Linked DNA regions of Homo sapiens: all the other regions are linked to region 4. The links are contacts of gene promoters, found by promoter capture Hi-C in blood cells and fetal thymus (Javierre and others, 2016). All regions are on one chromosome and are shown on one strand. The core of a region is centred on a gene start or on the middle of the fragment in contact, and the rest is flanking DNA. Distances in the headings are between cores, read along the strand shown.

Evidence for each region. The method cuts DNA at HindIII sites, captures the fragments that hold promoters and counts their contacts. A CHiCAGO score of 5 or more calls a contact.
Region 1: a fragment that was not itself captured here is called in contact with the fragment with the promoter of NRDC in region 4 in 1 of 17 cell types (fetal thymus); the score reaches 5.1 in fetal thymus.
Region 2: a fragment that was not itself captured here is called in contact with the fragment with the promoter of NRDC in region 4 in 1 of 17 cell types (fetal thymus); the score reaches 8.1 in fetal thymus.
Region 3: a fragment that was not itself captured here is called in contact with the fragment with the promoter of NRDC in region 4 in 1 of 17 cell types (neutrophils); the score reaches 5.1 in neutrophils.
Region 5: a fragment that was not itself captured here is called in contact with the fragment with the promoter of NRDC in region 4 in 1 of 17 cell types (naive CD4 T cells); the score reaches 6.1 in naive CD4 T cells.

Annotation. Positions count from the first base shown.
Region 1 is chr1:52,727,231-52,730,040 of GRCh38, forward strand. The region is part of intron 1 of ZYG11B (zyg-11 family member B, cell cycle regulator); the gene reads left to right. Among named protein-coding and RNA genes, the nearest start is that of ZYG11B, 2.2 kb to the left of the region's middle. The HindIII fragment of the contact is 1,993 bases long and covers 338-2,330 here.
Region 2 is chr1:52,700,156-52,702,855 of GRCh38, forward strand. No RefSeq gene overlaps it. Among named protein-coding and RNA genes, the nearest start is that of COA7, 3.2 kb to the left of the region's middle. The HindIII fragment of the contact is 3,859 bases long and covers 1-2,700 here.
Region 3 is chr1:52,397,612-52,400,311 of GRCh38, forward strand. It overlaps ORC1 (origin recognition complex subunit 1), which reads right to left. Exons shown (of 17, transcript NM_004153.4): 4 at 74-252. Among named protein-coding and RNA genes, the nearest start is that of ORC1, 5.5 kb to the right of the region's middle. The HindIII fragment of the contact is 2,742 bases long and covers 36-2,700 here.
Region 4 is chr1:51,877,371-51,880,070 of GRCh38, forward strand. It overlaps NRDC (nardilysin convertase), which reads right to left and starts at 1,357. Exons shown (of 31, transcript NM_001101662.2): 1 at 905-1,357. The coding sequence starts at 1,245. RefSeq lists enhancers at 1,347-1,641, 1,525-1,704, 2,095-2,648 and a silencer at 1,395-1,444. The HindIII fragment of the contact is 5,345 bases long and covers 681-2,700 here.
Region 5 is chr1:50,963,388-50,966,087 of GRCh38, forward strand. It overlaps a transcript of CDKN2C not described here. Among named protein-coding and RNA genes, the nearest start is that of FAF1, 4.5 kb to the left of the region's middle. The HindIII fragment of the contact is 3,553 bases long and covers 1-2,700 here.

The DNA.
Region 1 (2,810 bases), core at 84-2,583, 850 kb after region 4:
TTCTACGGGCTTCAGGGGTCTAAGCAGGAACAATTTGAGGACTGTTGCTTCCCGGGAGCTGTAGGGCGGGCAGATAGGGATTTATAGGTTTGCTTCTTCCTTTTCGTTTTTGGAGGCATTGAAGAGATCCTGGAAGCCTATTCACCTAGTGTCATTGCAAAATCGAAGTGGTGGTGTGTTACAGAGCAGTGAAGTGAGGGCCAGCATGCATACTGTGACCTCAGGAGAGATCTAGTCTTTTGACAGAAATAGCTAAAAAATGTTTTGAATTTTTTTTATTTTGAGCATCTTTTAATGTGGAGGTGCAGTTGGAGAAGTTTAAAAATACTTATTTACAAGCTTGGCTATTATTACTAAAAACAAATGATTTGTTTTCATTTGGAGGCAGAGACCAAGGGCATTTGAGGACTGACAATCAGGTTGGCAGGTTGTGACAGTCTCTTTAAACCTTCTAAAGAGTTCATTTGTTTTGCCCTGTCTGCCTTTAGTTGGGAGAACCTTATATTTGCAAATTTTCTTTCTGTCTGAAAATAGGTTGAGGCTTCAGTTGGTTTTTTCATTGAGTTGGGTTATAAGTGGTTTGCTGTACATTTATTGAAAACATTGCTCCATCATATGCAACAAGCTAAATTTTGGTCTCTGGGAGGAATAAGGCAAAACTAAGTCCTGATAATTATGTTCCCCTAGGAGGTTAGTCAGTTTCTTTTTTTCCCTCCAGCAGTTTTTTAGAAAAGTAATATACTATAAAATTATTTAATCTATGAATTTTCCCTAACTCACTCCTGCATTTTTAGTCTGTCATTTTCCTGTGTTTGTCTCCTTCACTTTCACACACTGTTGTTGTATGCTAACCTGTTTCTCCCTGTGGAATGTAAGTTCTAGGTAGCAACCGTTCCTTACTTATTATTCCAAGTGCCCAGGCCAGCTAGGTGCTTGAATGATTCACTTTATGGTCTCATTTCCCACCTGACTAATATAAACTTAAACTGAAATTTGAGGTAACTAGTGGACTACACAGAAAGAGTGAGTTTGAGAATTGTTGTTTGGAGACGATCTTGCTCTGTGGCCCAGGCTGGAATGCAGTGGCACAATCATGGCTCTTTGCAACCTTGAACTCCTGAGGTCAAGTGATCTTCCCACCTCAGCCTCACAAGTAGCTGGTACCACAGGCACGGACTACCGTGCCCCGCTAATTTGTAAAACTTTTTGTAGAAATGGAGTCTTGCTGTGTTGCCCAGTCTGGTCTTGACCTCCTGGATTCAAGCCATCCTCCCACCTTGGCCTCCCAAAGTGCTAGAATTACAGGCATGAGCCATCACGCCTGGGCAGAGAATCTTAATTTTGATGCAAAAATGATATTGAGTGAGGTATGATGATATACTTTTCAGAATAAAGAGCTATCCTACCTAAGACATTACACTGCTAGATTTTTGAAAGTGTGGGCCCTTCCATTGAGAATGAATGTATGAGAGGGAGGAGTTATGAACTCCCCTTTGAGGTATTTAGGATCTAAAAGTGTCCTTTGAGCTGGGCCTGAAAGTTGAATAGGATTTATATAGATCATTTTGGGAAGGGGAAGAATGCCTCATTGTGAATGTGAGTAGCAAGTAGAAAGGATCCCCTCACAGGGATTTTTTTTTTTTTAAGAAAGAAAGTAGGAAGGAATTAGGATGCATTGTAGGAAGTAGTATTACCCTTATATAGCATGGAAGGATGCAAGAATGGAGATGTGTAGTAGGAAATGAGGCTAGCAAGATACTGTCTTAGCCCATTCAATCTACTGTAACAAAATACCATAAACTAGGTAGCTTGTCAGCAACAGAAATTTATTTCTCAGAGTTTGGAAGGCTGGGAAGTCCAAAATCAGTTCCCCAGTGGATTCAGTGTCTCGTGAGGGCTCTTCCTAAGTCACCTTTTCACTGTTTTCACACATGGTGGCAGGGGCCAGGCAGCTCTCTGGAGTCTCTTTTATAAGGGCACTAATCCCATTCATGTGGGCACTAACTGGTGATCTAATCACCTCCCAAAGGCCCCACCTCCTCATACCATTACCTTGGGGGTTAGGATTCCAACATATGAATTTAGGGAGACAGAATTCAGACCACAGCAGACATATTAGGCATGATTATGTTTTAAACTTTGCATCTAATTAACTTGATTTTTCCTTGCTTGTTAAAACATATACACACAGAGTAACAGTGTATGTATGGGAGAGGTGAGGAGAAGGCAGAATATTAGCTTATTTTGAGCTAGGAATTATCAGTAGAGGCCACTTTCTCGTGCAATATTTTTGTAGATAATAAATACAGTTGAATGAATGATTATTATAAAGCTTTGTATTTTATATTTGTTAAATGTTAATTAGGTTGTGTTTGAATAGTTGAGATGTTTAAGATGTCAGGAGTTCGAGACCAGCCTGGCCAACATGGCAAAGCCTCGTCTCTACTAAAAATACAAAAATTAGCTGGGTGTGGTGGCACATGCCTGTAATCCCAGCTACTCGGGAGGCTGAGGTAGGAGAATCACTTGAACCCAGGAGGTGGAGGTTGCAGTGAACTGAGGGCAGGGCCTGAGAGGTGGCAGTTCTTTTTTTTTTGAGGCAGGGTCTTGCTCTGTCCCTAAGCTGAAGTGCAGTGGCATGATCACAGCTCACTGCAGCCTTGACTTCCCAGGCTCAAGCGATCCTCTCACCTCAGCCTCCCAAGTAGCTGGGACCACAGGTGCCCATCATCACACCTGGCTAATTTTTATATGTTTTGCAGAGATGGGGTTTCGCCATGTTGCCTAGGCTGGCCTCAAACTCCTGGGCT
Region 2 (2,700 bases), core at 117-2,616, 820 kb after region 4:
TAGGATTTTACATTCATTTCCCCATAATACATCTTTCATAGGATAACAGAAGATTGCCTTTTCTCCCCCAAGCCTTTGAGTAAAATTGACATTCCAGGCAATATACCACATTTACCTGTGGTTTCTTATACCCTGATCACCTTAGGGGACTCCTCAGTACACATGGCCCAGGATGGGAATCCTTGAACTTTGGTTTGAGGTCATCTTCTTTAGGATGGCCTTCAAGACCCTGTGCAATCTGATTCTAGCCTTATTTTCTGCCTCTCTTCCCCCACATCCCACCAACCTTCTGTTCTCTGAATAGATCCCAAGTTTGTGTCCCTGTTTACCTCTGCTCTTGATGCCTGGACCACCCTTTTTGACACAAATCGGAAATACTCTCCTATGTAAAGTCTTCCCAGACACAACAATTACACACATTCAAATTAGATTTAGATGCTCCCATTTTGGTGTTCCACACCACTTGGTTTATTCTGGTATAGTGTAGTAGGAAAGAAAGAACTGGCTTTGGAGTGGGGACAGATCTTAGTTCAGAATCCATGTTCCATGTTTATTAAATTGTAACCTTAAACCAATCATGTTTGTGAGTCTGAATCCTCTTCTGTAAATGCAGATCCATTTGTAATGGCTGTCAGAAGGACTACAAGTTCATGTATGCAATGTGCTTGGCAGAGCGCCTGGCTCAAAGTCATTCCTGTTCCAGGAATGTTTCTTGTCATGCCAATAATGGCATGAAAGTCTGTGTTCCCCACCAGACTGTGACCTCTGTGTCCTGTATGCTGGTCACAGGGCCAAGAATAGAATAGGGCTTGATGATAGAATAGAGCAGGGTGATGTCGATTACTAAAATCTGGGAATGTTTCCCTTTATTTTCTGAGTTGAACTGCATTGAAATGAGATCACCTGAGCGGTAGAGGGCACAAGAGAGTTAGTTGGTGATGAGAGGCTCAACCAAGTAAGAGGTCACTTTTTTTTGTTTTGCTCTTTCATCCAGGCTAGAGTGCAGTGGCGTGATTTTGGCTCACCGCAACCTCCGCCTTACGGTTTCAAGCAATTCTCCTGCCTCAGCCTCCTGAATAGCTGGGATTACAGGCGCCCACCACAATGCCCGCCTAATTTTTGTATTTTTAGTAGAGATGGGGTTTCACCATATCGGCCAGGCTGGTCTCGAACTCCTGACCTCGTGATCCGTTTGAACTAACTGTTGCCTCTGCCCTAGAGTGCTTTTCCCCTGTATTTTTTTTTTTTTTTTGGCTTGCCTTCTTAAGTTCTCTGCTTCAATTTGACATCGTCCATGTGGTCTTAGCTCATTCTTGTTATAATAACAGTGTCTTGATTGTGCCCAGCAATATTAGGTGCCCAAGTATTGTTGACTGAATTAAGAAGAGGGATTATCATTCCAAATAATTTGGTTTTCATTAATGGAACTTAGAATATCACTGACTCTTGCTCTTTTGACCCAGGTTTTTCTTAAAGCTATAAGAAACATTAAATGAAGGTCTAATTGACATACAGGAAACTGCACATAACTTTAAAGTAACAATTATGAGTTTCTACATATGTATACACCTGTAAACCATTATCACAATCAAGATAATGAGCATATTCATCACCTCAAAATTTCCTCATGTGACTTTGTACTTCATTCCCTCCCCAGCAACCATTAATCTGCTTTCTGTCACTGAAGATGGGTTGCATTTTGTAGGATATTATCTAAATAGAATGATACAGTAAGTACTGTTTCTTTTTGTATAGTTTCTTCGATTCAGCATAATTATTTTGAGATTCATCCATGTTACCACACGTATTAATAGTTCATTCTTTTTCTTAGTGAATGACATTTCATGATGTAGATATATCACAATTTGTTTATCCATTTGGGTTTCCAGTTTTTGGCTTACAAATAAAGCTGCTGTGAATATTTGTGTACGTGTCTTTGTATGGGCATTCATTTCCATTTTTGGGGTTCATACCTAGGAGTGGAATGGCTAGATCATATGGTAGGTATATATCTAACTTTAAGAAACACCCAAACTGTTTTCTAAAGTGATTCTACCATTACATTCTTACCAGCAGTGTTTGACAGTTCTAGTTGCCCTACATCCTCACCATAATTTGATGTGTGGTCAGTCTTTTAAAATTTTAGCCATTATAGTGAATATAACAGTATCTTATCATAGGTTTAGTTTGTATTTTTTTGAGTGACCAATAATGTTGGCATCTTTTCATGTGCTTATCTGCCATCTGTGTATCTTTGATGACATGTTTGTTAAAATCTTTCGCCCCCTTTTTATTGGATTGTTTTTTATTATTGCATTCTAAGAGTTATTTATATATTCAAGTCCGTTATCAGAAGTTTTGCATATATTTTCTCCCAGTTTGGCCTGCCTTTTTTGTTTTTATAACAGTGTCTTTCAAAACCAAAAGTTTTTCATTTTAATGGTGTGTCTAGTTTATTGATTTTTTTCCTCTTGTTAATAGTTTGTGCTTTTTCTTTCGTATTCAAGAAGTCTTTGCCAAACCCAAAGTCACTAAGATTTTATCCTATATTTTCTTGTAGAAATTTTATGGTTTAAATCTTATATTTAGAAAGCCTATGATCCATTTCAGATTAATTTTTGTATGAGGTATGAGATAACAGTTGAGGTTCACTTTATTGCATGTGGGTTTATAATTACTCTAGCACCATTTGTTAGAAAG
Region 3 (2,700 bases), core at 157-2,656, 520 kb after region 4:
CTGGGGTCATGAAGTTCAGGAGGCAGACAGAAATAAGCTTCAAGGTAGAACCAAGGATGGTGGCATCACCTACCCGAACAAGGCCAATGATGGTCTCCGCATTAATGTTGCTGTCACAGGCCGGGTAATCATACCAGAATATTTCCTGTGCACCAGGCTTCCGGCCCAACAAATGCCGTTTACAGGCAGGGACTTCACAGAATCGGACAAACCACTGTACTCGAGCACGTTTCTTAGGAGGAGGATCAGAGTCTAGAAAGAATTTGGTGGAAAGGGAAAGGTTAAGACAACTCAAGGACACTTTACTGAGCAATTCCTATGTGCCAGACACTGTGCTTAACCCTTGACATGTGTGGTTTTGTTTTTTGTTTTTTGAGACAGAGTCTCTGTCACCCAGGCTGGAGTGCAGTGGCCCCATCTTGGCTCACTGCAACCTCTGCCTCCTGGGTTAAAGTGATTCTGCTGCCTCAGCCTCCTGAGTAGCTGAGATTACAGGCACCTGCCATCCTACCTGGCTAATTTTTGTATTTTCAGTAGAAACGAGGTCTCACCACGTTGGCCAGGCTGGTCTCAAACTCGTGACCTCACGTGATCTGCCTACCTTGGCCTCCCAAAGTGCTGGAATTACAGGCATGAGCCACCACCTCCCGCCAAAATTTTTTTTTTTTTTGTGACGGAGTCTTGCTCTGTCCCCCAGGCTGGAGTGCAGTGGCGTGATCTCGGCTCACTGCAACCTCTGCCTCCCTGGTTCAGGAGATTCTCCTGGCTCAACCTCCCGAGTAGCTGGGACCACAGGCCTGTGCCACCACGCCTGGCTAATTTTTATATTTTTAGTAGAGATAGGGTTTCACCATGTTGGCCAGGCTGGTCTCAAACTCTTGACCTCAAGTGATCCGCCCGCCTTGGCCTCTCAAAGTGCTGGGATTACAGGCATGAGCCACCATGCCTGGCCCAACATGTGTTATCTTTTATTTTATTTTATTTTTTTGAGACGGAGTCTCACTCTGTCACCTGGACTGGAGTGCAGTGGTTTGATCTTGGCTCACTGCAAGCTCCGCCTCCCAGGTTCACACCATTCTCCTGCCTCAGCCTCCCAATTAGCTGGGATTACAGGCGCCCGCCATCACGCCCAGCTAATTATTTTTTTGTATTTTTAGTAGAGACGGGGTTTCACCGTGTTAGCCAGGACGGTCTCAATCTCCTGACCTCGTGATCCGCCTGCCTCGGCCTACCAAAGTGCTGGGATTACAGGCATGAGCCACCACACCTGGCCGATCCTTAATCCTTCTAATAACCCTACAAGGTAGGTACTACAGCTATCCCCCTTTTCAGGCAAAGAAATCAAGTGACGGGGGACCTTAAAGAGTTTGTCAAAGGTCACATGACCAACTGCAGCAATCTAATTCCAGCCCACACACCCGCTCTTCTGGGATTGCTCCATTTCCTAATGGTGCTATCAGCCGGCAAAGGAATGACAAAAAGGCCTCTGAGAGGAGCTACTCTAAACACAGGCAACGAACAAATAAAAATCAGTGACTATAAAGACAGCATCAAACAGCAGCAAAACAAAAATCCTAGCAAGAATTATAGCATCAGGCTGGGTGCAGTGGCTCACGTCTGTAATCACAGTACTCTGGGAGGCCAAGGCAGGCGGATCACTTGAGGTCAGGAGTTGGAGACCAGCCTGCCCAACATGGTGAGACCTCATCTCTGCTAAAAATACAAAAAATTGTCCAGGTGCGGCGGCTCACGCCTGTAATCCCAGCACTTTGGGAGGCTGAGGCGGGCGGATCATGAGGTCAGGAGCTCAAGACCATCCTGGCTAACACGGTGAAACCCCGTCTCTACTAAAAATACAAAAAATTAGCTGGGCATGGTGGCGGGTGCCTGTAGTCTCAGCTACTCGGGAGGCTGAGGCAAGAGAATGGCTTGAACCCGGGAGGCAGAGCTTGCAGTGAGCCGAGATGGCGCCACTGCACTCCAGACTGGGCGACACAGCGAGACTCTGTCTCAAAAAAAAAAAAAAAAAAAAGAAAGAAAAAGAAAATTAGCTGGGCATGGTGGCAGGTGCCTGTCATCCCAGCTACTTGGGAGGCTGAGGCAGGAGAACTGCTTGAACCCAGGAGGTTGAGGCTGCATGAGCTGAGATTGTGCCACTGCACTCCAGTCTGGGTGACACAGCAAGATTCTGTCACTGTCACACACACACACACACACACACACACACAAGAATTACAGCATCAACCACTGAGATGACTTCTGGCAAATGCTTGCAATCTTCAGCTTTATTATTACAGCATACGATTAGTATCACTCCGTACCAGCAATAGCTCCAACCGAAAGAACACTCATTAGTGCCTCATCATCATCCTCTCTTCCCTGCTTAGCTTTCTTCAGAGAAAGACTAAAGTCATCCAATGGAGCACCAAGAGAGGATTCTAGAATCTATACACCGAAGCCCATGATTCTGATGTGCTGCCTCTACTGGACATTAGTTTGATGAGGTTTTTCTCCATACTTCTAAGTATGTCAAAGAGAAAGTATGTCCAAAATCCTCCTTATCTATGTGCAGTACTCTCCCCTTATCTGCTGAGGGTACGCGCCAAGACCAGTAGATGCTTGAACCTGCAGATGCTGCCACTAACCCTGTATATGCTATGATTTTTCCTACACACACATACTGTACAGCACGGATACACT
Region 4 (2,700 bases), core at 107-2,606:
AAAGTCCAGGCCTGGCACAGTGGCTCACGCCTGTAATCCCAGTACTTTGGGAGGCCAAGACAGGAGGATTCCCTAAGCCCAGGAGTTTGAAATTAGCCTGGGCAACATCGCAAGACCCAGACTCTTATTAAAACACACACGCACACACACACACGCAAGATACATCATAGTCATGATACTCCATGAAATAAGCTACCTCTGAAGGAAAATACTCAGGTGGGGACTGAATCACCAATTATTAGAAATGTTTAGAGAACTCCTGTACAAACCAAAAGTAGAGAATTTCAAGGTTAGAAGAAACCTTACAACTCACCCAACTGAGACCTAAGCCCTCTCTAATATATTCCTGGACGAGGTCGCCCAACCGTTTTGGTAATGGAGAACTACCCATGGAAACAAGTCACTTCAACTTAGGCCAAATATGATGCAAAGTTACTTTACTGAAGCCACACCATCCTCTGGTAACTTTCGTCCACTAGTTTCACCTATCACTTAAGTGTCCCTCAAATATTTTGGATAGTGATAATATGCCCCTTAAATATCCTGTCCTCCAAATTAAAGTATCCAACTCCGTCAACCTTTCCTGGTAACATAATACCAAGACTCCCTCACCATTCAGGCTGCGTTCCTCAAAGAAACCTTCATTCTTGCTTTAGCGACTGTATTCAAATGACTCGAAAAGCTTCTCCCATTCTGACGTCTTACAACCCAAGATCTCCCACTTGCCCAGCTGACACCACAGGGAAGCCTCTAATCACGCTTGCCACCTCCACCCAAGGAAGCATTTGGGGTGGAAAGTGTGCCCTGTTGCTCCATTGGGAGACATGGAGACAAGAAGTGACGGCGGCACCGACAGAGAAGCCGGCACACTGTTCGCCTCCCCATTGCAAGCCTCCTCCCTCACCGGTATTGCTTGGGGTCGCTGGGAGACTTGACGATCTCAGGGTCCCCAGCATTACTGAGAGACCCCCTCCGTCCCTCTTCCTCAGATTCATCCGCTCCTAGACGGGCAACCCGGCTGTTCTCGCCCAGATCCTGTCCATTGGGCTGCAGGTCAGGGCAGCTGCAGGTAGACTTCGCCTTGTTCCTTCCAGGCATGGCCAGAATAGGAAAGGGTCTGGCAGCAGCAGAGTCTTCGCACCGACCCCGCGTTTCGATTCCCCAGAGCGCCGCGAGCTCCCGCCCGGCCTCACACAACTTCCTCCGGGTGGCACAGACTGCAGCAACAGTGACTCTCCTCAGCATTCACCACCAAGCTGGAGCGATGGACATCCCGCTTCCCAGGACCCACCTCCTCCGCGTTCTAGAGGCGGTGGCGGCCGGCCCTGGTGCTGCCGCAGCCGCGGGGAACAGGCCTGAACCCCTCCCCCAACCCAGTCTCCCTCTCGCCGACTTCCCTCGTCCCTCCGCCCTCCCGGCCGCCGATGACGCTACTGATTTCAGCCAATCATGAGGCAAGAAAGTAGTCACGCTCACGTAAGCAACCAATCAGAACAGGAAAGGAGAGGCACCAACGTGACCCGGACTGATTCTCGGAACAGCCAGCGAACATTTCGAAACCCAAAGTGGGCGGGGCGAGGGAGAAGAAGCGGAGAGAGTGGCGCGGAGGACGACGGGAGAAGGGCCCCCGGCGCGTTTATGACGTACGAGTGTGTTTTGTGGAAACCACTGAGTAGTGCTCCGCGTGTCAAAGAAAAATATTCCCCTAATGAGAAAACTGAGAAACGAGTGCAGAGAATTAATTCCAAAGTTTTAAATTTTCCCATTCGTGTCATAGTTTGGGTACCCTACTCCTCAGACCCGGGGCGAGCCTTCGGCTGTGACTCAGCACATAAAAAACCAGAACGCCGGAAGTATTTTCCTACACCCGCCGGATGGACGCTGCTCCCGAGCGCCGCAAATACTAATTGGCTCTTCTCTACCCTACAGTCGGCCCGACAGTGGTGGGGTTTCATCCTCAAGCCCTAAGAAAGTGCTAAAAAGACCAGTCTGGATGTGCTAACTCTTCTGTGTGAAAACGTTTTTTAGCTCCTCCAGCCTCCTGTTAAATTCGGCCAATTTTTATCGAGCAGCTGCAGCGTCTGCTGCCTTCAAGTCTCCTTTCCCAGTTTTTCCCGCTAGCAGTGGTCTTTGGTTAGCAATGTAAAATGTGACGGAAATACAAACATAAATGAAAGCTAAAAAGCAGCTGAAATTAGTAAGATGCACTATACTGACACCATGGGGTAAGAGATCATAGCTCATACATACGAATGAGCGGGGAAAGACGTGAAGCAGGGAGATGTGTTGATAGTTACTGTATCTTCAAGGTTTTCGAGGCCTCTTCTGAGTTCCAAATGCAAGGAATACAACCATGAACAAAACAAAACTTGCCTTAGGCTGGGCGTGATAGTGATAGCTCACACCTATAATCCTAGTACTTTGGGAGGCCGAAGCGGGAGGATTGCTTTGAGCCTGGGAATTTGGTACCAGCCTGGACAACATGGTGAGACCCCCGTCTGTACAAAATTCTTTTTTAAAATTAGCCAGGCTTGGTGATGCGTGCATGTGGTCCCAGCTACTCAGGAGGCTGAGGCAGGAGGAACGCTTGAGTCCAGGAGGTCGAGGCTGCAGTGAGCCGTGATTGCAACACTGCACTCCAGCCTGGTTGACACAGTGAGACCCTGTCTAAACAACGACAACAAAAATTTAAAGCCTTGC
Region 5 (2,700 bases), core at 126-2,625, 910 kb before region 4:
GGAGTCTACTATGTACAGATACATTACAAACTTTATCTCATTTAATATTTACAACTACTACTTTACAGAATATAAAGCTGCTCTGGCAAGTTAAGAATTTGCTCAAAGTCATGCTACAGAGTGACAGACCTAGGATTCAAGACTAGGTCAAATTAGTGCTCCTTCCACTTACCATGTTGCCTCTGTACAATTTCCCTTCCATGCTGCTTAGTTTATACCATTCCCAAAGACACTGTTTCTTCCCTATGGCCTAACTCTTCATGGTTGGATACCTAGCATCCAGAGTGGTTATCTACTACAGATAAGAGAAGGGAAGAAAAATAAATACTGAATTAGGAGAAAAAAAATCATTTTTCATTTCTCCAGAATTCCATCCTTAAGAGAAACAATTTCAGTTAAGTGTCATAAACCAAAAGAAGGAAATGTAAAGAAATTTGGTCCATGCACGAGCAAAGAAAAGTAATTTTAATTTATCTATTCTCATAGTTGGCCCACAGTAGTTCATGGAGCTCAGCCTAAGTTAAATACAGATCTTTTTCTAGAATCTCCATGTTCTTTTAAAAGAAACTTTTATATCATCTTTATTTCCAATATAAATAATAAATATTATTTATATTTTACTAAATTTTTATTTGAAATTATTTTAGAATACTTCCAAAGACAGTACAGAATGTTCCTATATGCTTTTAGCCCATTTTTCTCTAATGTTACCATCTTATTTAACATGGTACATCTATCAAAACTAGGAAATTAACACTGCTAAATACTACTAGTTAAATTCTGGAGGCTCTATTTGGATTTTTACACTAATGTCCTTTTCTTGTTCCATGGTCCAATAATACCACATTACATTTAGTTGTCATGTCTCAGTAGCCTCTTCCAATCTGTGACAGTTTCTCAGTGGACACTTCTGAAGAGTCAGGAACTTTATAAAATCTCCCTCAATCTGGGATTACCTAATGTATTCTCAGAATTACACTGAGATGTGTATCACCGCAGAGGTGATATGTCCTTGTTACATCATATCAAGGCCATGTGTTATCAACTTGAGTTATTACTGGTAGTGATAACCTTGATTCTTTGGTTAAGATAACCAATTTCTTAAATAATACTTCTTGCTCATAATGTAATTCATGAGAAAACTAATGCTACTGCACATATGTATTTCATCTAGTGATTTAGTGTTGTTTAGGATACTAGTGGCGGACCCTGGACTAATGGAAAAAGTATAAGGTTTGGAGCCCCAAGAACTGAATTCAAATCCTATGTCTAGTATTCACTGACTTTAAATCACAATTTCTGCCAGCCTCAATTCCCTCACCTGAAATACGGGGATTATTATCACAGTCACTTCACAGAATTGTTGTAAAGATTAATATATGCATTGGCTGTGTGTGGTGGCTCACACCTGTAATCCCAGCACTTTGGGAGGCCAAGGTGGGCGGATCATGAGGTCAGGAGTTCGAGACCAGCCTGACCAACATGGTGAAACCCTGTCTCTACTAAAGATACAAAAATTAGCCGGGCGTGGTGGTGCGCACCTGTAATCCCAGGTACTCGGGGGCTGAGGCAGAAGAATTGCTTGAACCTAGGAGGCAGAGATTGGAGTGAGCTGAGATCGCGCCACTGCACTCTGCCTGGGCGACAAAGCGAGATTCAGTCTCAAAAATATAGATAGATAGATAGATAGATAGATAGATAGATAGATAGATATGCATCATATTTTATAACCATGAAACACTATACAAATATTAATTGTTGCTATTATTTTTCAGCTTTTGGGTTGCTTACTGGGCTTTTTTTCCTTCTTACTTTAACGAAGAACTTTCAGGCCGGGTGCGGTGGCTCACACCTGTAATCCTAGCACTGTGGGAGGCTGAGTCGGGCAGATCATGAGGTCAGGAGATGGAGACCATCCTGGCCAACGTGGTGAAACCCCATCTCTACTAAAAATACAAAAATTAGCTGGGTGTGGTAGTGGGCGCCTGTAATCCCAGCTACTCAGGAGGCTGAGGCAGGAGAATGGCTTGAATTTGGAGGTGGAGGTTGCAGTGAGCCGGGATCGCGCCACTGCACTCCAGCCTGATGACAGAGAGAGACTCTGTCTCAAAAAAAAAAGAACTTTCAGCCTGGCCAATATAGTAAGACCCCATCTCCACAAAATTAGAAAAATTATCCAGGCATGGTGGAGCATGCCTGTGGTCCCAGCGACTCCAGAGGCTGAGGTAGGAGGGTCACTTGGACCTGGGAAGTCAAGGCTTCAGTGAGCCATGATCATGACCAAGCCACTGCACTCTAGCCTGGGCAACAGAGTGAGAACCTGTCTCAAAAATAAAATAAAATAAAAATAATAAAAAATTTTCATAAATAAGTACCTATATGAAAAAAACCACTGAATCTCAGAAATAAAATGCTGAAGCTACAATTATAAAGTCACATAAAAGGCTGCCTGGGGGTGCCCAGTCTGTTTTCCACCTCTGTTGATCTATAAATACAACAAAAAGGAAAACTTTGAGACCAGTTAAATAAATGGTAAATACCACATACACATTTCCAAAAGTTAATCATTCAGAAACTGTACCTACTTGAGTCAATGAGGGAAAAGCACAGAATAATTTGACTGAATCACATTTCTATTCTATGTCAATGAGGGAAAAGCACAGAATAATTTGACTGAATCACATTTCTATTCTATGTCTC